Linked DNA regions of Homo sapiens: all the other regions are linked to region 1. Evidence: promoter capture Hi-C in 16 types of primary human blood cells and fetal thymus (Javierre and others, 2016). All regions are on one chromosome and are shown on one strand. Each heading gives the region's core, a stretch centred on a gene start or on the middle of the fragment in contact. The rest is flanking DNA. Distances are from core to core; before and after follow the strand shown.

The links. The method cuts DNA at HindIII sites, captures the fragments that hold promoters and counts their contacts. A CHiCAGO score of 5 or more calls a contact.
Region 2: a contact is called between a fragment that was not itself captured here and the fragment with the promoter of ZNF527 in region 1, in 1 of 17 cell types (total CD4 T cells). The highest score is 7.6, in total CD4 T cells.
Region 3: a contact is called between a fragment that was not itself captured here and the fragment with the promoter of ZNF527 in region 1, in 1 of 17 cell types (neutrophils). The highest score is 6.5, in neutrophils.
Region 4: a fragment that was not itself captured here is called in contact with the fragment with the promoter of ZNF527 in region 1 in 5 of 17 cell types (non-activated CD4 T cells, total CD8 T cells, activated CD4 T cells and 2 more); the score reaches 14.6 in non-activated CD4 T cells.

What each region holds. Positions count from the first base shown.
Region 1 is chr19:37,368,581-37,374,514 of GRCh38, forward strand. It overlaps ZNF527 (zinc finger protein 527), which reads left to right and starts at 2,519. Exons shown (of 5, transcript NM_032453.2): 1 at 2,519-2,646; 2 at 5,578-5,651. The coding sequence starts at 5,619. RefSeq lists enhancers at 1,889-2,028, 2,049-2,098, 2,269-2,578 and a silencer at 2,609-2,918. The HindIII fragment of the contact is 7,295 bases long and covers 1-4,490 here.
Region 2 is chr19:57,305,666-57,311,599 of GRCh38, forward strand. No RefSeq gene overlaps it. Among named protein-coding and RNA genes, the nearest start is that of ZNF543, 12 kb to the right of the region's middle. The HindIII fragment of the contact is 9,398 bases long and covers 1-5,934 here.
Region 3 is chr19:57,288,815-57,294,748 of GRCh38, forward strand. It overlaps ZNF460 (zinc finger protein 460), which reads left to right. Exons shown (of 3, transcript NM_006635.4): 3 at 1,885-5,255. The coding sequence ends at 3,416. Among named protein-coding and RNA genes, the nearest start is that of ZNF460, 11 kb to the left of the region's middle. The HindIII fragment of the contact is 5,284 bases long and covers 772-5,934 here.
Region 4 is chr19:56,385,715-56,391,648 of GRCh38, forward strand. It overlaps ZNF582 (zinc finger protein 582), which reads right to left. Exons shown (of 5, transcript NM_001320371.4): 3 at 4,661-4,787; 4 at 4,287-4,382. It also overlaps the pseudogene SLC25A36P1. Among named protein-coding and RNA genes, the nearest start is that of ZNF582, 4.9 kb to the right of the region's middle. The HindIII fragment of the contact is 1,923 bases long and covers 1,641-3,563 here.

The DNA.
Region 1 (5,934 bases), core at 1,269-3,768:
AGGTGCATACCACCATGCCCAGCTAATTTTTGTATTTTTAGTAGAGACAGGGTTTCCCCATGTTGGCTAGGCTGGTCTCGAGTCCTGACTTCAGGTGATCCACCTGCCTCGGCCTCCCAGAGTGCTGGGATTACAGGCCTGAGCCACCACGCCTGATCTAAGTAAGTTTTTAAATAGCTATTTCATTTAATTCTAATTATTATGTAACAGTGGTTATCTAAGTGTGGTCAGATAATGTTTGGGGGCCAGGCACAGTGGCTCATGCTTGTAATCCCAGCCCTTTGGGAGGCTGAGGCGGGCGGATCACTTGGGGTCAGGAGTTCGAGACCAGTCTGGCCAACATGACAAAACCTCGTCTCTACTAAAAATACAAAAATTAGCCGGGCATGGTGGCGCACACCTGTAACCCCAGCTACTCGGGGGCTGAGGCAGGAGAGTCACTTGAACCCGGGAGGTGGAGGTTGCGGTGAGCCGAGATTGCACCACTGCACTCCAGCCTGGGCAACAGAGCAAGCAAGACTCTGTCTCAAAAAAAAAAAAAAAAAAAAAAAAGAGACCCGAAAGAATGAAAAACAAAAGTATTTCATTCTGGAACTAGACACAGAATGAAGACATTGTGTGAGGACCTGAGCTGCTGCAGCTACCTTGCAACCACATAAAGCAACACTGCCAATACATTGAGGACTGCAGAGCAGGAGGAAGGATTCTTGCTACAATTGGTCACCTGCTAAGCCAACTGAACTTCTTGCTAAGTGGGGAAATAAATATCTTTACTGTATAAGCTACTTTCAGTTGAGCATATAACTGTATAACTTCCTATTAAAAGCATCTTAATTGAAATTCCCAAATTCGTATCTCTAGTACCAACATTTCACTGAGCTCCACACACATATATCTAAATGCCTACTTGATATCACTCTTTTGAAATCCAACAAGCATCTGCGACTTAACATGATACCTCACCACCCACCCCATCCTAGATAACTGCCACATACTCATTTTCCCCTATCTTAGTAAATAACACTACCATTTTTCCAGGGGCTCAAGACATTTAGGCATTATATTGAACTTCTCTCTTTCCCTATATTCACAACCAAGCATCAGCAACTTCTGTTAGTTCTACACTCAAACTGTATCCCAATCTGACAATTTCTCATTGCCTCTTCCAGTGATGACCCTAATTCAAACCACCATCATCATAAGACCATTGGTCTCCAAAATAGTTTATACATAAATGAGCCTGTCATTGACATGTAGAGACCTGGGTCAACAGTACAGATGGAGGTCCCCAGCCAGTCCCCTTCTGTTCCCACTGCCATCCTTGTCCCACATCGTAAGAGGTCTTCTATTCCCACATGTGGACACTCCAGCTTGCATATCTAAGCTCTGTCTAGCCTTACCAAATTGCTCTCATTTGGCCACATTTTGTGGATAGGCAGCACATTCCACCTTTGGAAGACAGATCAAGGGAAGGGTCTTTGGACACAGAGGAGATACAGGCTCTGGAAGCAGGCTGGAGTCCATTTGAACAGGAAATCCTGGGGATTTGGATACCCAGAGCATGGTCTGAAAGAAGGTTGTGAGATCTTTGCAGGCATGTTTCTGCCTATGGACTTTCACCAGGAAGGAAACTGCTTGACTAGAGGAGGGCCAAAGTGTGGCCTTTTGTATGTTTAATAATATTAAAATGTTAAATATATTATTTTGACCAATTGAGAAATAATAATAATAATAAAATAGGCCGGGTGCGATGGCTCATGCCTGTAACCCCAGCACTTGGGGAGGCCGAGGCAGGTGGATCACAAGTTCAGGAGATGAAGACCATCCTGGCCAACATGGTGAAACCCCATCCCTACTAAAAATACAAAAATTAGCTGGGCGTGGTGGCAGGTGCCTGTAATCCCAGCTCCTCAGGAGGCTGAGGCAAGAGAATCGCTTGAACCCGGGAGGCGGAGGTTGCAGTGAGCGCCGAGATTGCCTCAATAAAAGATACCACAGACCCCGCCCATGGCAGGAGATGGGGGTGAAGGAACAGTAAGACCAGGAGACAGTCAGATACACATCGGATCAGTGGTATCCTCACAGTAACAGAAACGGTCACCCCCAATGTCAGCCACAGTCTCTTTCATCCACAATCACTTTCACATTCAGCTACCCACAATCACGGGACGTGATTTAAAATACAGAAGCTCCCTGCACTGACAAAATCCGCCGCTCCTTTCGTCGGCAAGCATAAAGGTGTGCAGCAACAGTCACACACGAACCACCACACCCAAGCATTCAACCAGTCAGCCCCGCGCGCAGCCTGGCCGCTTTCCCCAACACAGCAGCTCAAGGTCACTGGAGAGCCTACGACCGCACACAGCCCTCTCCGGTACCTGCCCCCGTGGCGCAGGCGCGCAGTGGAGGGGGCCGCGGGGTTCTCTGGGAGATGTAGTTCAACGATGACGGCCGTGGCGCAAAGCGTTCTGGGGCTCGTGGTTCGCGGGGTCCATGGGGAACGCGGTGTCGCTGGTTCAGATCTCGCAGAGCTCAGAGTCCTGCATGCCTCAGTCCTCGCCTCGCTCCTCCTCGCGGAGGATTCTGGGAGGTGACGTCGCGGGTCTCGGTCGCGGGGCCCGTTTGCAGAGCCCGCGGCGCCGGGAGGTGAGTGGGGCCGGGCCCCGGGCGGGAGCGGGAAGTCAAGGGCGGGCTCCGGGTGGCCCGGCCGCGCCAGGGATGGGAACCCGGCAGGAGTCGCTGGGGAGGCCGTGTGTGTTTCACTGTATTACCAACTATGTGACAGGCTGCGGGTGTGACAGAATGTGATCTTGTGTCACTGTGTGTGTGTGTTTGTGCGCGTGCGCCCGCTTGTGTGTGACTGTAACCATCTGTGTCTGGGGGTGAAACTGTGAATATGTGTGTTTGTGTGTGACTGTCTCTGCAGGTGTAGCTGTGTATGTGTTTATGAGAGACTGGGGTGTGACATTGTGTGTTTGTGTAAATGCATGTGTGTGGTTATGTGACCACCTGTTTCTGCGGATACAATTGCGTTTGAATGTGTGTGACAGCAAGTGTGATTGTGCGACTATGACCATCTGTCTCCGCAGGTATAGTTTTGTATCAGTAATTGTGACAAGATGTGTGACTTCTGTGGTATGCTACTTTGTGTGTGATTGTGTGTGATTGTTTATCTCTGTTGGTGTAGTTGTATGTTACCATCTATCTTTGTGCTTATGTGGCTGTGTATTGTGTGAGATTATGGGTGTGTTTGTGTGACTCTATACATTTGTGATTGGGTGAGAATTTGTGTGTATATATGAGATTGTGGGATTGATGTATGAAGCACAGAAATATTAGAATTACCCAAGTTCACACAGTTAACAAGTGACAGCACCAGAACTCAAACCCAAGCAGTTTAGCTCTAGAGGTCTCGCTTTTTTTTTTTTTTTTCTCTTGAGATGGAGTCTCACTCTATTGCCCAGGCTGGAGTGCAATGATGCGATCTCGGCTCACTGCAACCTCCGCCTCCCAGGTTCAAGTGATTCTCCTGCCTCAGCCTCCCAAGTAGCTGGGATTACAGGCGCGCACCACCACGCCCAGCTAGTTTTTGTATTTTTAGTAGAGACGAGGTTTCACCATGTTTGGCCAGGCTGGTCTCCAACTCCTGACCTCATGATCCGCCCACCAGAGCCTCCCACAGTGCTGGGATTACAGGCGTGAGGCGCTGCGCCCTGCTGCAGTTTTTATGGACAATTTCAAGCTGCACTACACTAAGGAAATAACTGCTAGGGACTGAGTTGCCTAGTGCAAAGTAGTCCAGAATTAGGGGGTGAAATTAGGGGGTGATGTATACTGAATTCTAGGTCAACCACAGTTGTCCCTTTCTTTTCTTTTCTTTTCTTTTCTTTTTTTTTTTTTTTTTTTTTTTGAGACAGAGTCTTGCTCTGTCCTGTAGGCTAGAGTGCAGTGGTGCAATCTCGGCTCACAGCACCCTCTACCTCCTGGGTTCAATCAAGCCTCCCACCTCAGCCTCCCAAGTAGCTGGGACTACAGACACATGCCACCACGCCCAACTAATTCTTGTACTTTTTGAGGAGATGGGGTTTTGCCATGTTGCCCAGGCTGGTCTTGAATTCCTAGTCTCAAGTGATTTGCCCACCTTGACCTCCCAAAGTGCTGGGATTACTGGTGTGAGCCACTGTGCCCAGCCTGTCTCTATTTTTACAATGAAGAAATGTTGGCTCTAAGAGGACAAGGAACTTACTTCAGATTGCCCAGTTTGTTGTTGCTTTAGTATTAAAATTTGGCGATGTTTCCCTCAGGCTGCATTTCTGTAGAGAAATAAAGGTAACACCTGCCATCTCTAAAGATGCCTCTCTAAGGAATATATGGCATTGATTACTCGGGTTGTGTTGAATATTTCCCATTCAGACATCGTGGCCTCTCAAAAGAGGACTGGTTTTGAGGTCACATTTCAGTTGGACCCCGGACTTTGAGTTGGTTGTTTAAGCTTCTGGAACCTCCCTTTTACTACCAGTAAAGTGGAGATATTAATACCTATCTTTGTAGTTTTGTGGAGCAGTAGTAGTTCTGAGGATTAAATGAGATAATGACACAATGAGATAACCATGTGTGACAGTCTCTCTATCTTTGTGCTAATACGGCTGTGTGTGTGAGAGAGAGAGATTATGCCACCGATTGTGTAAATGTGTATATGTTTGTGATTGGGTGAGAATTTTATGTGTATGTGAGATCACGGGATTATGTCGGACCTAGTCTGATTGTGAGGCACAGGAAGATTAAAATTACTTGCCCAACACAGCATGAGTTAACATTGTATATTTATATTACATAAGGCACAGTAAAATTTATTTATTCATTTATCTAATTTTTTGAGAGACTACAATGGTCTGGTGGTGTTCTGTCATTAGAATACACCTGTGAACCAAACAAAACCTAGTTCTCTTGGATCTTACAATCTTGCATGGGAAGAGAAACAATAAAGAAACAAAGCAGTATGTAACATGTCCAGTGGTGATAAATGCTGAGAAAAAAATAATTCAGGGTAAAGAAAAATGGAGTACCTGGAACAGGGGTTCCCTTGAGGTAGAATTTTCAGGGAAGTCCCTCTGATGAAGGGACACCTGAATGCAGATAGGAATAAAGAGGAGTGGCCCATGCTGGTGTCTGGGAGAAGGTTCCAGACGGAAGGAAAAGTCCACAACCCTGAAGAAGGGGTGTACAGTGTTTGAGTAACAGTAGGAAGACATGTGCCTGGAGTGTGGCGAGTAAGGGGCGGAAGGGTAGGAAATTAGGTCAGAGGTGCAGCCAGGGGCCAGATCATGAACCACCTTGTTGGCCGTAGGACAGACTTTGGATTTTGTTGAGTTCAGGCTATGCGTCCTTAATATATAAGTCAAGACTTTGGGAGTTAAGTTCAGCATTGGATTCCACCCCGCCACCCTGGCCAGATCTTGGAAAAGGTGAGGCTGGCCCATGTAGGGAGAAGAAAGGGGCAGTAGTATTTTTGTGGGTCTTGGACCAAAAACACAGGGCTGGCACATCATCATTTCTTCATTAACTCTCCCTTCTCAGGACTTTGTTCTTCTTCAGAAGAGAAAACTGAAGAAGGAGGAATGGCTGTGGGGCTTTGTAAAGCCATGTCCCAGGTAAGCATGCTCTTTCACTTTGTTTTCAGACATTTGACCTCATTTTTCAGGACTTTGGGACCACAGGGAAAATCACAAATAGCCCAATGAGCACCCCTTCCACTTCTCTCTCCACCTTTTGTTCATATAATCCTTCTACAAAACATTTAATATCTTTTTTAGTCAGTGTTATGCTCAAATGTGTGATGGAGCAGAGCTATCCTCTTTAGATGGATGATGATTTGTTGAGTCGGCAATGAGTGCAAGTGAAATAAGGGATAGAGTTTGATTACTGAGTGATCTA
Region 2 (5,934 bases), core at 2,382-4,881, about 20 Mb after region 1:
ATGCCACCTGTGAGTTTCTAGAGATGAGGTCTCCCTATGTTCCCCAGCCTGGTCTTGAACTCCTGGGCTCAAGTGATCCTCCTGCCTCAGCCTTCCAAAGTGTTGGATTACAGGCGTGAGCCACTGTGCCTGGCCAGAGCTCATCACTGTTAACTCAGCCTGGGTTTTTCACAGCAGTCATGGAAATAGATTCATTAATAATAGTAACAAATATATAGTCTCCCTCTCAAAGAAACCTTGAGTGGCAGTGGCATACCAGATACACAGTAGGAAATACTGTAGAATTATGTTGTTAAGTTCATAACCAAACATCATACATGATGATAAAAGACAAGATAATGGTCACATTTATGCAGTATTAACTGAGAGGGCAAATTTGTGCCTGAGAAGCTATTGGGAATGTTCTCTCTCTTTGCATTACTAGGAATTACATGGGAAACACATGTAGACAGTCTTCAGGCTATTAAGATTTGTCCACTTAATCTTTACTTATACATGAATAAAAAATGGGAAAACATGATAAATATAATAAACTAATACACTCAACCCTGCCCCTTGATTATATAATAGAACAAAATCAGCATGCCCGGCATGAGCCTGCCAGATTGCCAATTCCATCCTCCACCTTCAGAGGATGCCGCCATCCAGAATTTTGCCTTACTCATTTTACTTTCTTCATAGTTCGACACCTTAAATGTATATTACTAATAGTAGCTTTGCATTTTTGGCTGATTTAAAAATTGATATAAATGAAATAATGCTGTAGAGATGCTTTTTGGTATTAAGTGGATATACTGTTATTCTTAAAGATGTTTGAAATGAATATACCTTTCTAAATATCTTTTTAAAATAATACATTAAATGATACTGCTTTAGAATTCATGAACTGCATCTCATGAGAATATGTAGAGATGACGTGGGCAGGTAAAGTAAAACTTCAGGTTGAATATCCTATGATAATTTAAAAATGACAAAATAGTGTGGTGAATAATAGAGCTTGAGCACTTTAAGGCACCGTAGGGACCCCTTCAATGTAATGATGACAGTGCTGAGGTGCAGAGAAGTTAGGTAATCAGCCCAAGCCACTACTCTAAGGACAGACCCTATCTACTTTTCCTAATTTGTCAGAAGACTGCCTATGATACTACTAATAAAAAGTCCTATGAAATTGGTATTGTCATTATTTTACAAATAAAATAATCTTCAATTTTTGTTTCCTCTATGCATGGGTTACTTAGTATTTTGTAATTTGAATTTCAAGCATAATTAAAAAGAAATCAGGTATCTAGGCTGGGCATGATGGCTCAAGCCTGTAATCTCAACATTTTGGGAGGCTGAGGCAAGAGGATCACTTGAGGCCAGGAGTTTGAGGTATCTTTTGTTGATCTCTACACTGATTGTATTCTCTCTTTTATTCTATGAAAGTTAAAGATTTTTTCTGATACTACATATTGTCAGTTTTTTAAATACTCAGTTTGTGCTAAAAGAAAACATTCGGCAACTGATATCTGCTGTTCTGTATGTATCTGTCAGTCCAGATTTGTCCATTATGGTGTATGAATCTAATAGAACCTCACCAATGTTATACCTGCCTTCTTGAAATCATTACTGAGATAGCTAATATTAAAATATCCTGGTTTGTCTGTATATTTAATTCTTTACTCTCATTATACTAAATTTTTTTAATGTAATTTGAATTGATGGTAAAAATTGTATACAGGCCGGGTGCAGTGGCTCACTCCTATAATCCCAGCATTTTGGAAGTCCTATGCAGGAGGATTGCCAGAGGCCAGGAATTTGAGATCAGCCTGGGCAACATAGTGAAACTCTCATCTTTATAAAAAGTAATATTAAAATTTTTAAAAGTGTATAAACTGTAAAGTATATTTTACTGGTGTTTTCTTCCTTATTCCTACTTGTCAGATGCAAATACACATTTTTGTGTGTTTGTGTTTAGTAATTATAAGTATACATATTTCATTCTTCTATTTCATATATTTCTATGACATTATATCTTAGATGTGTAATTTATGAACTACTACTGGATTATTTTAATCCATTAGAAATTACTATTCACGCATTCTGTATTCAATTCATGTGATAGCTAATATATTTGGTTTTAAATGCATCTTATTTTGTGGTTTTCTTCTAGGCTGTTTTTTGTGCTTTCTTTTAAAAATATATAGGTTTTAATAATCTTAATTTTCTTTTAGTTTGAAATGTATATACTCATTTTATTCATTAGTCTAAGATAAGAATTGTAACACTTCTCTAACCTATTATAGAATTGTTAATACCTTTACCCTTCTCTTGAACACATCAAAGGATGTCATTGAGTGTTGGTATTGGAGTATAGCATATCTATTATTCTGCTCAATTAGAAGATATTGTTCATGTTGTATAGAGATAATAAGTAATTGTATTGATCTGCAGATGCATCCATCTCTTGGATTCTCATTCCTTCTACCACTGCAGAACTTTCACCTGTAATCACTTTCCTTTGGCCTTAAGGATAACTTTTAGGGTTACTTTTCTACTAAATTTCCAATTTTTGACCAGATATAATCTTATATTGTGCTCTTCCTGAAAAATACTATTGTTGTGGATAGAAATCTGGGTTGGTAGTTATTTCTTCAGCAATTTGACCATGTCATTCCACTGTGTCCCTGGCCTCCTGTATACTGGATGTGAATGGATACAATTATATATTGTGTTTATAGTTTTCCTGTGCTATAGGAACAGTATTCGAATCTGATGCAAAGGACAACACACCCTAGAGATTGTAACAGTGAGATGAACCAAGTGATTGGATGGGGTTTTGAGTTGCTGGAATAATGGAGTTACAGTGTACAATGCATAAGCAACATAATAAATTATATATCTGGTGAACAAATGGATGGATTGTGCCATGAACTGGTTAGATGCTTACCCACATGTCACAGAAGGTCTTCACTTGCAAGGAGGGTGGGAAATACCTCTTGGTCAGCTCTCAACTTGTGCAGCATCAGGCCTCTTTCAATGGGGAAGAGCCACACAGGAGCAATGAGAGTGGGGAGGCTTTTCACACTGGACAAAGGGATTCCAAGTACAGCAATTGTGGGAAAGCCTTTTGCTGCAAATACATACTTTTTCAGTATCAGAAAATCCATGCTGGAGTAAACCCTTATGAGTGCAGTCAGTGCTGGCATACCTTTAATAACAGCTACTATTCTATAGTTACCCAAGAGAATTCACAGCAAAGCTGTGCCTTATGAGTGCAGTGATTATGGGAAATTATTTGGCTCCAGCTCTAATCTCCATATACACCAAATAGTTCACACAGGATCAAGGCTTTAAGAGTGTGTTGGCCAGGCATGGTGGTTCACACCTGTAATCCCAGCACTTTGGGAGGCTGAGGCAGGCGGACCGCAAGGTCAGGAGTTCGAGACCAGCCTGGCCAACATAGTGAAACCCCGTCTCTAGTAAAAAAATACAAAAATTAGCTGGGCGTGGTGGTGCGCGCCTTTAGTCCCACCTACTCGGGAGGCTGAGGCAGGAGAATTGCTTGAACCTGGGAGGCAGAGGTTGCAGTGAGCCGAGATCACGCCACTGCTCTCCAGCCTGGGCAACAGAGCGAGACTCTGTCTCAAAGAAAAAAAAAAAAAGTGCTGAATGTGAGAAAGCCTCTATCACTAGACCTCATCCTGTTTAGCACCAGAGAATTCATAGTGGAGAAGACCTTATGAGTGCAGATCATGTGGCAAATTCTTTATAAAGACACATTTGTTGAGTACCAGAAAGTCCACAATGGAAAAATATCTTCTCAGTGTGGTGAACGTGAGACATTCTAAAGCCACAATTCTTACCGTGGTTAGGCTTTGTGTCCCCACCCAAATCTCATCTTGAATTGTAATCCCCATAATCCCCAGTGACCAGGGTAGGACCTGGTGGGTGGTGATTAGATCATGGGGGCAGTTTCCCCCATGCTCTTCTCCTATAGTGAGTTCTCACAAGATCTAAGGGGTTTTTTGTTTGTTTGTTTGAAACGGAATCTTGCTCTGTTGGCCAGGCTGGAGTGCAGTGGCATGATCTTGGCTCACTGCAACCTCCGCCTCCTGAGTTCAAGTGACTCTCCTGCCTCAGCCTCCCAAGTAGCTGGGACTACAGGTGTGCGCCACCAGGCTCAGCTAATTTTTGAATTTTTAGTAGAGACGGGGTTTCGCCATGTTGGCCAGGCTGGTCTCGAACTCTTGACCTCAGGTGATCCACCCATCTCAGCCTCCCAAAGTGCTAGCATTACAGGCATGAGCCACCGAGCCCAGCCCTCAATCTGATGGTTTTATAAGGGGCTCTTTCCTGTTCGCTCGTTCGCTCTCTCTCACCTGCCTCCACGTAAGACGTGTCTTTGCTTCTCTCTTGCCTTCTGCCATGATTTTAAGTTTCCTGAGGCCTCCCGAGCTATGCAGAACTGTAAGTCAATTAAACCTCTTTCCTTTATAAATTACCCAGACTCAGGTATGTCTTTATAGCAGTGTGAGAATGGAGTAATGGACTATCTTGTAACATGTTAGAGAATTCACAATGGAACAAGATCTTGTGTGTTCAGGAAATGTGGGAAAGCAGAAATTCCCACATTGCTTGGCAAATGAAAGTCAACCAGAGAAAGGCCTTTTGTAGCAGATATAAGAAAGCATACAGTGAAGGCCTAACCTCATTAGGCATCAGAAAATTTACACTGGAGAGAGGCCTTAAGAGTTCATGGAATGTGCTCATTGTTTAACATGGCATGATCCTAAGAGAAAATCTCTGAGAGTAACCTTTGAGAGGGAGCTCTAAGCCAGGATTTGAACCTCAGACATATGTGTATTCACACTGTGGAGATTACCTACAACTGCATGAGTGATCAGAAACAAATGGGGTCCTCATCTATTTCCCCTTAGTGGTTTCAGCGTGGATATTATCCAGCTGCAGCCTAAAAGATCTGAGCTGGGGCCTGCTGTGGATTTCAAGAGGTCCCCATCCTTAATAAACAGTGTTGACCCCACATGGTAGCTGAGATGGATTTCTCCAACCAGCTTCCCAATCCACCAACCTTAGATATGCCCACCTCATGATGTTCTCATTTGTGCAGAGATAAATGCCATAGTGTTTAACCCTTCAATCTGTTCTGTTCATTGTGTGGGACTGATTGAGAAAAGAAGGGCTTTGCTAGCAGGGACCACCAACTTTATGTGCCTCAGAGTGGACAGCAGGATGGTAGAGAGTAGCTCTAAGTCTAGTTTGGCCTGTTTTGCAATGCTACGCAACGTCTCTTAGGGAAAACTGTAGGGCATTGTGAGACTGATCTTGTGACCTGGATGTCAGGATCTCTGTGAGCCCTAAGCTCACCCTCATGAGGGAGTAGTTGGTGTGACAACCTCCAGTGCTTCTAGAAACAGCATAAGTTGAGTCCCTTTTTCCCAGAGGATGTGTCATATTCCATCAATTCTGTTGAGGGGTGGCTGTCTCCTAGGACCTCTATGCAGAGGACATTGCCCCTGAAATCTAAAATCTGGTAGGCATGTAAGACCTACAGGGGCTAAGCAGGAAACAGATACAGAAACACTACATACAGAAACATTGGATAGTAGGGAGTAGTGGAGACTGGGAAACTAGAAGTTATGTGTGTACTCTAAAGGGGGATACACAAATTTAATGTAACTATGACTCTGCGATGAGGGTGTACAAAAATTCTCACGACCGGCTGAGCTCCTTTTCTCCTATGGCTGAGGCCGGTGTGAGAGCAAACAATCTGAAAGTTTGTGAATTCCTGTACCTCCCTGGGCTGTTGACATTTTGGTCATCACTGAACAGGCAGGAACCCCAGGACTGACAAAAGAGAGCTTGGAGTCGATCGTGCATCTTTTGTGACCCAGTCAGCATGTGGGAAGTGATGGCCTTCATTGCTTTCTAGTT
Region 3 (5,934 bases), core at 2,164-4,663, about 20 Mb after region 1:
AGTTATCTCATAGCCCATCCTTTTTACTCTTACATACTCTCCAAGGCTAATCCACACATTCTTTTTATTTATTATTATTACTTTTTTTTTTTTTTTAAGAGATGGATCTGGCTATGTTGCCCAGGCTGGTCTCGAACTCCTGGGCTCAGCTTCCCGAGTAGCCAGGATTACAGGCAGTACCTTTCAGATTGTGTCTTTTTCTAGTATTTTCAGGTTATTGTTTCTCAGGGTTGTATTGAATTTCTGGATCAGTTTTTAGAGAATTGATAATTTTATATTATCAATTTCTTCATTCAGTTAGATCTTTATTGTCTTGAAATAAAGTTTTATTATTTTCTTTTTCAAGATCCAGTTGTTTGTTAGCCTTTTCGCCTACCTTTCACCTTGACAGTGGATTCTATATGTCTACCAGGATTCTGTTCACCCTCTGTCCTAGGAGCTCTGTCCTAAGAGTAGCTGTGGCCATCACTAGCTGTCCCTCAGGCAGAATCTTGAGCATCAGCTTCGTCTCCGCCCCTTCCTGTCTCTGAATCCTGATCAACCTTAACTTCTTATGGGGCTGCCTCCTCTCACTGCAGTCCTCTGGATTCGCTGAAGACTCTGTGTCTTTGTATATTCTATGTCCTAAGGCTAATATGTCCTTCTAACTTTAAGCTCATGAAGCATCCTCTCTGGGAAGCCTCCTTGACCTCTTCCTGTCCCTGCCCCTTCTAGGCTACATTAAGTGCCCCTTCCCTGGCCTCTTGTAGCTCCTTGACATGTTCTTGAGCAAGCTTATGATAGAGTGTCATCATTATGATGTCCACCTAGTCTCATCTTGACTGTGAGTGGGGATCTCTATTCCAGACCATCTGTACTCTGCTTGAGCTTCTCCCTCTGGGTTTCTCTTTAAAAATTTCAAGAGTTGGCCAGGCACGGTGGGTCACGCCTGTAATCCCAGCACTTTGGAGGCAGAGGTGGGCGGATTACTTGAGCCCAGGAGTTCGAGACCAGCTTGGGCAACATGGTGAAACCCCATCTCTATTTTAAAAATACAAAAAATTTAGCCAGGCGGGGTGGCTCACACCTGTAATTCTAGCATTTTGGAAGGCCGAGGCAGGCAGATCACCTGAGTTCAGGGGTTCTAGACCAGTCTGGCCAACATGGTGAGACCTCATCTGTAAAAATACAAAAAAATTAGCCCAGCATGGTGGCGCACACCTGTAATCCCAGCCACTTGGGAGGCTGATTCAGGAGAATTGCTTGAACCCAGGAGGCAGAAGTTGCAGTGAGCTGAGATCATGCCACTGCACTCCAGCCTAGGCAACAGAGTGAAATTCCATCTAAAAAAAAATAAACAAAAAAAAGCCAAGCGTGGTAGCATATGCCTGTAGTCCAGCTACCTTGGAAGCTGAGGTGGGCAGATCCCGGGTGATCCGCCTCAGCCTCCCAAACCAAAGTGCTGGGATTACAGGCATGAGCCACCATGCCTGGCCTTTTTTTGAGATGGGTTTCCCTCTGTCACCTAGGCTGGAGTGCGGTGGCTCAGTCTTGACTCACTGCAGCCTCCACCTCCCAGGTTCAAGCGATTCTCCTGTCTCAGCCTCCCCAGTCGCTGGGATTATAGCCGCCCGCCACCATGCCTGGCTAATTTTTGTATTTTTAGTAGATATGGGGTTTCACCATGTTGGCCAGGCTGGTCTCAAACTCCTGACCTCAAGTGATCCGCCTGCCTTGGCCTCCCAAAGTGCTGGGATTACAGGGATGAGCCACTGTACCCAGCCCATCAAATCATAGCTATTTTCAAATCATCACTATTTTCATCTTATTGTTCTCACCAAAAAGGTGGTTTCATTTCTTCTGTACTATCTTAATAAGTTCTTTTGTGTATTGTGTTCCCTTCAGGTGACAGCACAAAACCTGAGACCGTAGAGCCTATCCCTTCTCATCTGGCCTTGCCTGAGGAAGTCTCACTCCAGGAACAGCTGGCACAGGGAGTCCCAAGATACTCCTATTTGGGGCAGGCCATGGATCAAGATGGGCCATCTGAAATGCAGGAATACTTTTTGAGACCAGGGACAGACCCACAGAGTGAGAAACTCCATGGGAAAATGAGCCTTGAACACGAAGGTTTGGCGACAGCTGATGGTATTTGTTCAATGATGATACAGAACCAAGTCTCACCAGAAGATGCTCTCTATGGATTTGACTCATATGGACCAGTTACAGATTCCTTGATTCATGAAGGGGAAAATTCCTATAAATTCGAGGAAATGTTTAATGAGAATTGCTTCCTTGTTCAGCATGAGCAGATTCTCCCTCGTGTGAAGCCCTATGATTGCCCAGAATGTGGGAAAGCCTTCGGCAAGAGCAAACACCTCCTTCAGCATCACATCATCCATACTGGGGAGAAGCCCTATAAATGCCTGGAGTGTGGGAAAGACTTCAACCGCAGGTCACACCTCACACGGCACCAGCGGACTCACAATGGAGATAAGCCCTTTGTGTGCAGTGAATGTGGAAGGACCTTCAATCGCGGGTCGCACCTTACACGGCACCAGCGGGTTCACAGTGGAGAGAAGCCTTTTGTGTGCAATGAATGTGGAAAGGCCTTTACCTACCGCTCCAATTTTGTCTTGCATAACAAGAGCCACAATGAGAAGAAACCCTTCGCATGCAGCGAATGTGGAAAAGGCTTTTATGAGAGTACAGCCCTCATTCAACACTTCATTATCCATACTGGGGAGAGGCCCTTTAAGTGCCTTGAGTGTGGGAAGGCCTTCAACTGCAGGTCACACCTCAAGCAGCATGAGCGGATTCACACTGGTGAGAAGCCCTTTGTGTGCAGTCAATGTGGAAAGGCCTTCACTCACTATTCCACCTATGTCCTGCATGAAAGAGCCCACACTGGAGAAAAGCCTTTTGAGTGCAAAGAATGTGGGAAAGCCTTTAGCATTCGAAAAGACCTCATTCGACACTTCAACATCCACACTGGAGAGAAGCCCTATGAGTGTTTACAGTGTGGAAAGGCTTTTACCCGCATGTCAGGGCTCACAAGGCACCAGTGGATTCATACTGGAGAGAAGCCGTATGTATGCATCCAATGTGGGAAAGCCTTTTGTCGGACCACAAACCTGATTCGACACTTTAGCATCCACACTGGAGAGAAGCCCTATGAATGCGTGGAGTGCGGGAAGGCCTTCAACCGCAGGTCACCCCTCACAAGGCACCAGCGGATTCACACTGCAGAGAAGTCCCACGAACCCATCCAGAGTGGGAACGTTTCTTGTGAGAGCACAGATCTCATTCAACACTCCATCATCCACACTGAGAGTAGCCCAGTGAGTGCAGTGAATATGGAAACGCCTTCAATTGCCGCTCATTCCTCCTCACTCGACATCAACGGATTCATAGTGGAAGAAACCCTACCATTGTAACAGATGTGGAAAGACTTTTTACGTACACTTCAGTCAACATCCAAGAATTCCTATTAGCGAAATAGTTTTTTAATATAACCACTGAAGAAAATCTGTGGTGAGAGGAAACATCTTACCATCTGGTCATTCATACTGAAGAGAAACTCCATAAGTATCATCTCTGTGGGAAAACCTGTTTTAGATCATCATTTGTCATCTAAACAATTATGTTAGAAATTGACACAGCCAAGAGTCTTATTCTACATCTGATAATTCACCCATGAAAGAGACCCAGTGGTTACTGTGCACTTAGGAAAACCTTCAGCCACATCTTTCTTATTAGTTTACAGTGAAATGTTATCTCAGGGACATTCAAACAAAGGAGGAGGAGTCATAGGGAAGAGAAAGAAATGGAAGCACAGCTTCTTTCAGACTTCCCTGACAAGCCCATGGCAATTTGTCATCCCCTCCTTATTTTATTTGGGAGAGGGAAATGTTTCAGAAACAAAAGGGCCTCATCCCCTTTATTTTCCCTGTGTATACATTCACTGCTGTCCAGTGCTGTAGACAAACGGTTTGTTTGAAAACATTTTGTGAAAGCCTGCTTTGTTCCACAGCATTGTCTCCACTCTTGAGGAGCAGAAGCATATATCTTTATGAGAAAGATGGAGGCTTGAGTTATGAAATACTTTTACATTTAAGGAGATAAAGGATGTACATATGAATGGGCACATTTTACTGCACACTTCAGACGCTTTGACTTTTTTAAAAAAATTGTTTCTCCGTGTGTCTTTAACCACCCAGTACCATACTTTTTTCTTGATCTGGATCTACTTGTCAATTTCTTCTTTATTTTTCTGTAGGATGGAGATGATATTGTAGCTGTTTGTACATAATGTAATCCAGGGAGTCCTAATTCTTCCCTCTGATTGTGGTTTCTCAGCTTTTTTACTGCTCTTTAGAGAGAGTAAATAGTTCAAAATTCACCTCAACAATTTTCTAGAGGTCAATTTGGAACCAAAAATGAAATAAGACATGTAGCTAAAGTAAGTTAAAAGATTATGATAAACTCAGAAAATAAACACAGAGAAGGAATCTCATTTTTCAGTCTTACAGAAGATTGTGTGAAGGCTGACTATACATAAAGTGACTGGAATTTTAACAGGTGAACCTGCATATGTATATGCAGGTAGTTGTCACCATGGATTGAGTCCAGTCGTAGTAATTAATATGTTTAATCAGAATATTTTGGAATTTCTCTTTTGGTATTCTTTTTGTTTCTTTTATTGTTTTTAATTGACAATGTTTATGGGGTTTGGTGTGATATTTCAATACATGTGTGCTAAGAGTAATGATCAAATCAGGGTAATTAGCATATCCATCTCAATCATTTATCATTTCTTTGTGTTTAGAAACATTCACAGTCTGCTTTTCTAGCTATTTGAAAATATAAAATGTATTATTGCCAATTGTACTCATTCTGCAGTGCCACAGAACACTACAACTTATTCAAATGGAATCTTACTTGCTGTAATTTTGTATTTGTTAACCAATCTCTATCTGCCTCTCTGCTGTCCTTCCCAGCCTCTGGTTACCACCATTCTCAACCTTTTATGCTTGCATATGAGTAGAAACATGGAGTATTTCTCTTTCTGTGTCTAGCTTATTTCACTTAATGTCTTTCAAGCTCATTCATGTTGCTGTGAATGACAGGTTTATTTTTCATGGCTGAGTAGTATTCCATTGTGTATATATGCCATGTTTTCTTTCTTCATTCATCTGATAATGGACACTTAGACTGATTTCTTAGCTATTATGAATAGTGCTTCAATAAACATAGGAGTGTAGATCTCTCTTTGACGTATAGATATATTTGTTTTTGCATATATGCCCAGTAGTGGTATAGATCATTACCAGTGGATCATATGGTAGTTGTATTTTTAACTTTTGTTTATTTTTCATTTTTTAAAATGGGGTCTTGCTGTGTTATTCAGGCTGGTCTCAGACTCCTGGGCTCAAGCAGTCCTGCACCTCAGCCTCCTGAGTAGCTGGGACTACAGGCACACACCACCGTGCCTGGCTATAGTTTTAGATTTTTGAGGAACATTCATACTGTTTTCCATATGGCTATACTAATTAGCATTCCTACCAGCCATATATAAGAGTTCCCCCTTTTCCATGTTCTCAGCAGCATTTTTTATTTTTTATCTTTGGTAATAGCCATCCTAACTGAGGTGAAATTATATCTCATTGTGGTTTTGATTTGCATTTCCCTGATTAGTGATGTTGAGCATTTTTTCATATACTTGGCCATTTGTATGTCTCCTTTTGAGGGATGTCTATTCACCTTATTTACCCATTTTAAAATCAGATTTTTTATTTTTATTTTTTTTGCTATTGAGTTCCTTTTATATTCTGGATATTAATCCCTTTCAGATGAATAGTTTGCAAATATTTTATCCCACTCTACTAGTTGTCTCTTCATTCTGTTGTTTCCTTTGCTGTGCAGAAGTTTTTTAGTTTAATATAATCCCTTTGT
Region 4 (5,934 bases), core at 1,352-3,851, about 19 Mb after region 1:
GAACAATATTTTTTAAGACAGTAAATGTTTCTGTGAGACTCTAGAAAAGACAAATATAGAGTGACAGAAACCAAAGCAAATCATTGGTTTGACGGACTGTGCAGGAGGGAGCACAAGGGAACTTTTTGGGTTGATGGAAATGTTCGCTATCTTGATTGAGGTGATGGTTATGTGGGTGTATAAATTTGTCAACACTCATTAATAGCACATTTTAAAAATGCATTTTATTGACCATAAATTATGCCCCCAAAAGAGTGAATTTTAAAAAGATGATGGGGATTTCAAGATGAAAAGAGTTCCGGAGATGGACGGTGATGATGGTTGTACAACAGTGTGAATGTACTTAACACTACTGAACTGTACACTTGAAAATGGTGAGCACGGTAAATCTTGTATTTTACCACAGTTTTAAAAAATAAAAATAAAAGTGGTGTTGGAAGTGTGTGGTTGGATCTGCAACCTGCCTCAGTGCCTGGAGGACATGCAGGAGAATGAACCAGAGGAATATGCTGGTACAGTGGCAGCTATTCTCATGTGTCCGCTAGAAGTTAGAATGACATGGCTGCTGTCTTCCTCTGTGAAGCTTTTTATATCTGAAGTTTAGCTGAACACCATGGTGTTTTTTATATCTGAAGTTTAGTTGAACGCCATGGCTGAAGCCCATTATCAACTGAATGACATTTCTTAAATTTCTTAAATGTCATGCATTTACCTGAACCTTTTCATTTCTTAAAGGTGACCTTGGAAAAAGAAGGGCTTTTTTCCTTGTTTAGAGGATTAGGCCAGTTGATTGAGGGTGGGTCCTTCTAGAGCAACATACTTTGCTGATTATTCAAACTGCATGAAAAAGCTGAATGCTATAATGGACTGTGATTCTACCTGGTACATTATTTCAGCTACAGTGGCAGGTTTTACTGTACTTATAGCAACCAACCCCAGTTGACTTAAAGAGACTCAGATATAGCTTGACTACAGGTGGGCACCACCATGCTCAGCTAATTTTTGTGCTTTTTTGTAAAGATGGGGTTTCGCCATATTGCCCAGGCTGGTCTCAAACTCCTGGGCTCAAGCAATCCGCCTGCCTTGGCCTCCCAAAGTGCTGGGATTACAGGCGTGAGCCACCATCCCCAGCCTCAAAGTACTTTTTGCTGAGAATTTGATTCTGTCCTAATTTGCTGAATCATACATCATAGATTCAAGGTGATGTGCTAACAAGGATATCATTTTTAAATGTTGCCATGAAGTTCAAATGCACCTTTTCATACTTTAAATTGATATATGTATATAACCCTTAAACGTTTATGTTCATGATAATTCTGTTGAGACTTCTGGCTAAGGATGTTGCTATACTGGTATATAAAATGTGCACAATTAAACTCCAGTGTGATACTACTCATTTCAGTATATATGAGTGCTGTATTTTGTGCAGTAGCTTTATCTTAATATGGCTCTTTGTGAATGCACTTTATAGCATTTATTGAGGGTGAAAGAGCAGGAGGGAATTCTATGTTACGTATTTCTATAAAAACATTGGTCATTTATTCAACAGAACCAGTATTCCTAACATTTGTCTGGGTTTTAGATATGTTGTTCTGCAGATCTATTCACTGTAGTGATCCCAACATTATTGAAAATTACCAAGCTTTTACTGCTCTCACCAGTGAAAAACTGTACCTTCTTAAATTCTGTCAGCATGTCACATTTATTGTAATCAACAGTAACTGGATGTTTCTGAGGTGTTTTGATTGGACTCAAAAGTATTACAATCAGTTTGGAGACAAAAACACAATCTGCATTTTAGTTTAAGTATGACACTGATGACTTAAAAAAAAACTATATACAAACGTTCTATATAAAGTTTGCCTCCAAAGTATTTCTCTTTCTCTTTCTTTTTTGCAGGGGAGATGGGGTCTCATTCTGTTGCCCAGGCTGGAGTGCAGAGGCACAATCATATTATACTACAACCTCAAACTCCTAGGCTCAGGTGATTCTCCTCTGTCAGCCTTCTGAGTAGCTGGGACTACAGGCATGAGTTATTACGCCTGGCTGCAGAGGGATTTTAATATGTAAAAGTATTAACACAGTGTATTAACTTTGTGCCCACGCAAATCTCTTTTCTATCACATCCTTATGTTCTTCGACAGATTGACTTTTATGCTTCTCCTTTTAGAAACATAAAATTGTTTTATTCTTAGTTTTAAAAAACATTTGAATGTGTACCCTTGCTTATGCGAAGATTTATGACCTACTAGTCATAGCTAAATAGTCAACATTGTAAGAGCTGATACTTTTTGGTTCATGTGAGGTTTGGCATTCTTGCATTTATGTACACGGATGTCAATTGTGTGGACTTCTTCTGTATTTATGTTAACTAGCTTTTACTGAATTGTTGAAACTAAAAAAGTTAAAAACGTGCTTATAAAAAAAGGGGGGGGGGATTATGTCCAAAGAACCCAGGAGCCAGTTTGAAAGGGTGTCACTGGGCAAGTCTGGAAAACTATGAACGTTGTGATAAATAATGATAATGGGTAATAATCTGTTACAGGATAAAACAAGATTTATTTTATTCTGACCTGGAAATGAGAAAAAATATGCCACCTACTATTAATCCATATGATATAAATGAAGAAACAAATGGTGAAAGGGAGAAAGCTCTTCTTTACAGGAGTATGTGATCTAATAAATAAGAATAAAGTTTTTTTAAAAATCACTATTTTGTAACTATTAATCATATCTGATCCAAGAGAAAACTATCAATGACTTCTGAAACTAGCAGGTGAATAATTTGTGAGAAGCACAATATTTATATCCTCTCCAGGTGGACCATAAAATCATGGCTTGCCTCTATTTCTACAGTGCTTTCCCTCTGCCCACAGTGCAGAACCCAAACTTCATAACGTGGTTGCCTTTCCTAGCGTATCTTTTTTTTTCTTTTTGAGACAGAGTCTCTCTCTGTTGCCCCAGCTGGAGCGCAGTGGTTCGATCTCGGATCACTGCAATCTCCGCCTCCCGTGTTCAAGCGATTCTCCTGCTTCAGCCTCCCAAGTAGCTGGGATTATAGGCACGTGCCACCACACCCGGCTAATTTTTGTGATTTTAGTCGGGACGAGGTTTCACCATGTTGGCCAGACTGGTCAAGTGATTTGGCCGCCTCAGCCTCCCAAAGTGCTGGGATTATAAGCATGAGCCACCATGCCCGGCCCCTAGTGTATCTCTGTGTTCCTCCCTTTGCTCACTGACCTCAGCCACAAGGGCCATCCATTATCTCAGAGGTACCAAGGGCTCCCTGCTCAGGTCCTTCACACTCATTGGCTACAACTGGTATTCCCCAGCTACATCACACCTTCCATGTCTCAGCTGAAATGCCTTATCCTTGAAGAGGCCATTGGCCCTACCATGCACCCTGACTGAACCTGTTCTTTTTCTTTCACATATTAGCTCATGTCCAGTGTGTATGATTTCATGTCTATTTTCCCACTGCAGTGTAAGTTCCATGAAAGCAAGGATAATGTCCACCTGCCTCATCAATGTATACTGTGGCATATTCCATGGTGCATAATAAAAGCTTAATAAGTACTTGTTAACTGACTCCAGAATTCAAACAAACCGATACAAATTCCTTTAGAAAAATGGTCAAAGGACAAGATCATGTCCTTTGCAGGGACATGGATGGAGCTGGAAGCCATTATCCTAAGCAAACTAACACAGGAACGGAAAACCAAATACTGCATGTTCTCACTTATAAGTGGGAGCTAAATGAGGACACATGGACACACAGAGCGGGACAACACACATGGGCCTTTCAGAGAATGGAAGGTTGGGCGGAGGGAGAGAATCAGGAACAGTAACTAATGAGTACTAGGCTTAATACCTGGGTGATGAAATAATCTGTAAACAAACCCCCATGACACAAGTTTACCTATTTAACAAACCTGCACTTATACTCCTGAAGTTAAAAAAAATTTTAAATATTAAAATTAAAATTAATAAAAAAAGAAAAATGGTCAAAAGATACAGACATCTTTCCAAAGACAAAATACTTTCCTTAGGAACCACCATATTTGTACTCAGTCTAGCCCTATAATCCAGGTTGAATTTTTAAAGTGTTTCAGGAGGAAGGAGCAGCCACCTTTGTCAAATGCTGCTGACGAGCTGAGGAAAACAACACGTAAGACATAAGCTTTGAAGGTAGCAACCTGCAGGGAAGATCTTCTAAGACAAAGGGCCACTTCCAGCGGACCTGATACCTGCAGTGGCTGCTCCCTTCCCAATGATACCTCACTCACCTGGACACAGGCCTCCAGACACCACTCTCTCCACCATCCAGGGCTCTTTGCCTTGCTCTAGGAAGGAGATCACATCAGGTTTGGAAACGGCAAGACCTGGAGATGAGAAGAAACATGCCACCTGGTTATGGTGTGGGGGCCCCAGAATTCAGATCCAGGACCTGGTCATCAAGCAGGAGAGGCAGTTGCAGGAAGTGCCAGAGGAAGATGGGACAGTTGCCTGGGGGTAGGGGGATGCAGCTTCAGCCGACAGCGCCGCCCTTTAACCCCTCAAAAATGACCAACCAATCATAAGACTGAAAAGCACCCAAAAACTGACCAGGAAGGAACATGCCCAAGGATAACCTCCAAACTAACAGACGAGATCACCTTACCCAGTGAGACCAGGTTGCTGTAGGTCTCCAACATCACGTCTCTGTACAAATCCCTCTGAGCAGGTGCCAACCACTGCCATTCTTCTTGGGAGAAGACTATGGCCACATCCCTGAACAATTCTGACCCCTGGAATGACAGGCATGTATGATATATATGTATTTCAATGGTTCACAGTGGGATGAAAGGAGATGGGGCAGGTCTTTGCGGGAGGGGGGGTTGTTTTGTTGAACAAGAAGGGTGGGACTGAATGTGAAAGGTGACAGAAGAAATGGGGATGAGTAAAACAGAATGATCAAATTGTTCTCAAACATTCCTTTTAACTGCAAATCAATGCTCTGTGTACAGGTCTGGGATGAAAATTAAAATCAAGCTAAATGGAGTTTTCCTTATTGTTAAGAAACAGTGTAATAAAGCACACTGCCCACTCTATACTTGGCATACAATAAATTCTCAAGGTGAGACCTATCACTTCTATCTTTTGGAATAACAATAACAACAAAAAATATTTCTGATGGATTTTCCCCAAATATTTTATTTTTTAAAATTATGGAAACATGTTTTCTATCTTAGATACAGGATTTTCATGTAAGTCAAGAATTTCTTGGAGATGAAAGTTCATCATTATGTTGGAACATAACACAAGCATTTTTCTTCATGGGAAAAACCATGGAGATAACTTTTATTGAGTGCACAATTTTCTATCAAGTGAAACAACTGACTCAAACATCCTCTTATTTTGGATCCCGAGGTTGGATCAGATCTCTAAGGCTTTTCCAAGCCCTGACCACTCACCCACCTAGATGATCATCTCACTTGCTACATCGCTCACCATCCTCAGCTCTGTACTTTTCTTCCTCTTAAGCTAAAGAAACTAATGGAGGATGTCCCAGATTCAAATGCTCTGTCCAACGTCAAACTAGACTTTAATTCTGGCATCAAATTTTTGATGGATTCCCAGCCAAACCTCAATTACATATCCAATCATTAATCATTCCCAAAGCAGGACACTGTACCATGCGCTGAAACTGAAACCAACCAACACCACCTCCCCTGCTTTTCTATATGTGATTGCTCCTAAGCATTCATTCCATCTCTTCAAACTTCAGTTCTTACAAAGGATGCTCTCATTTCATACAGGGAAATGAGTTTCTCCTCCTAGCAGACGAAAACCATCAGGAGATGCAGAATGCTATAGAGAATAAATCTGTGGGCATTTGTCAGAGGGGAGAGGACAATGGGAGAGGAGACTCCTGCCTGGTCCTTTTATTCCCTA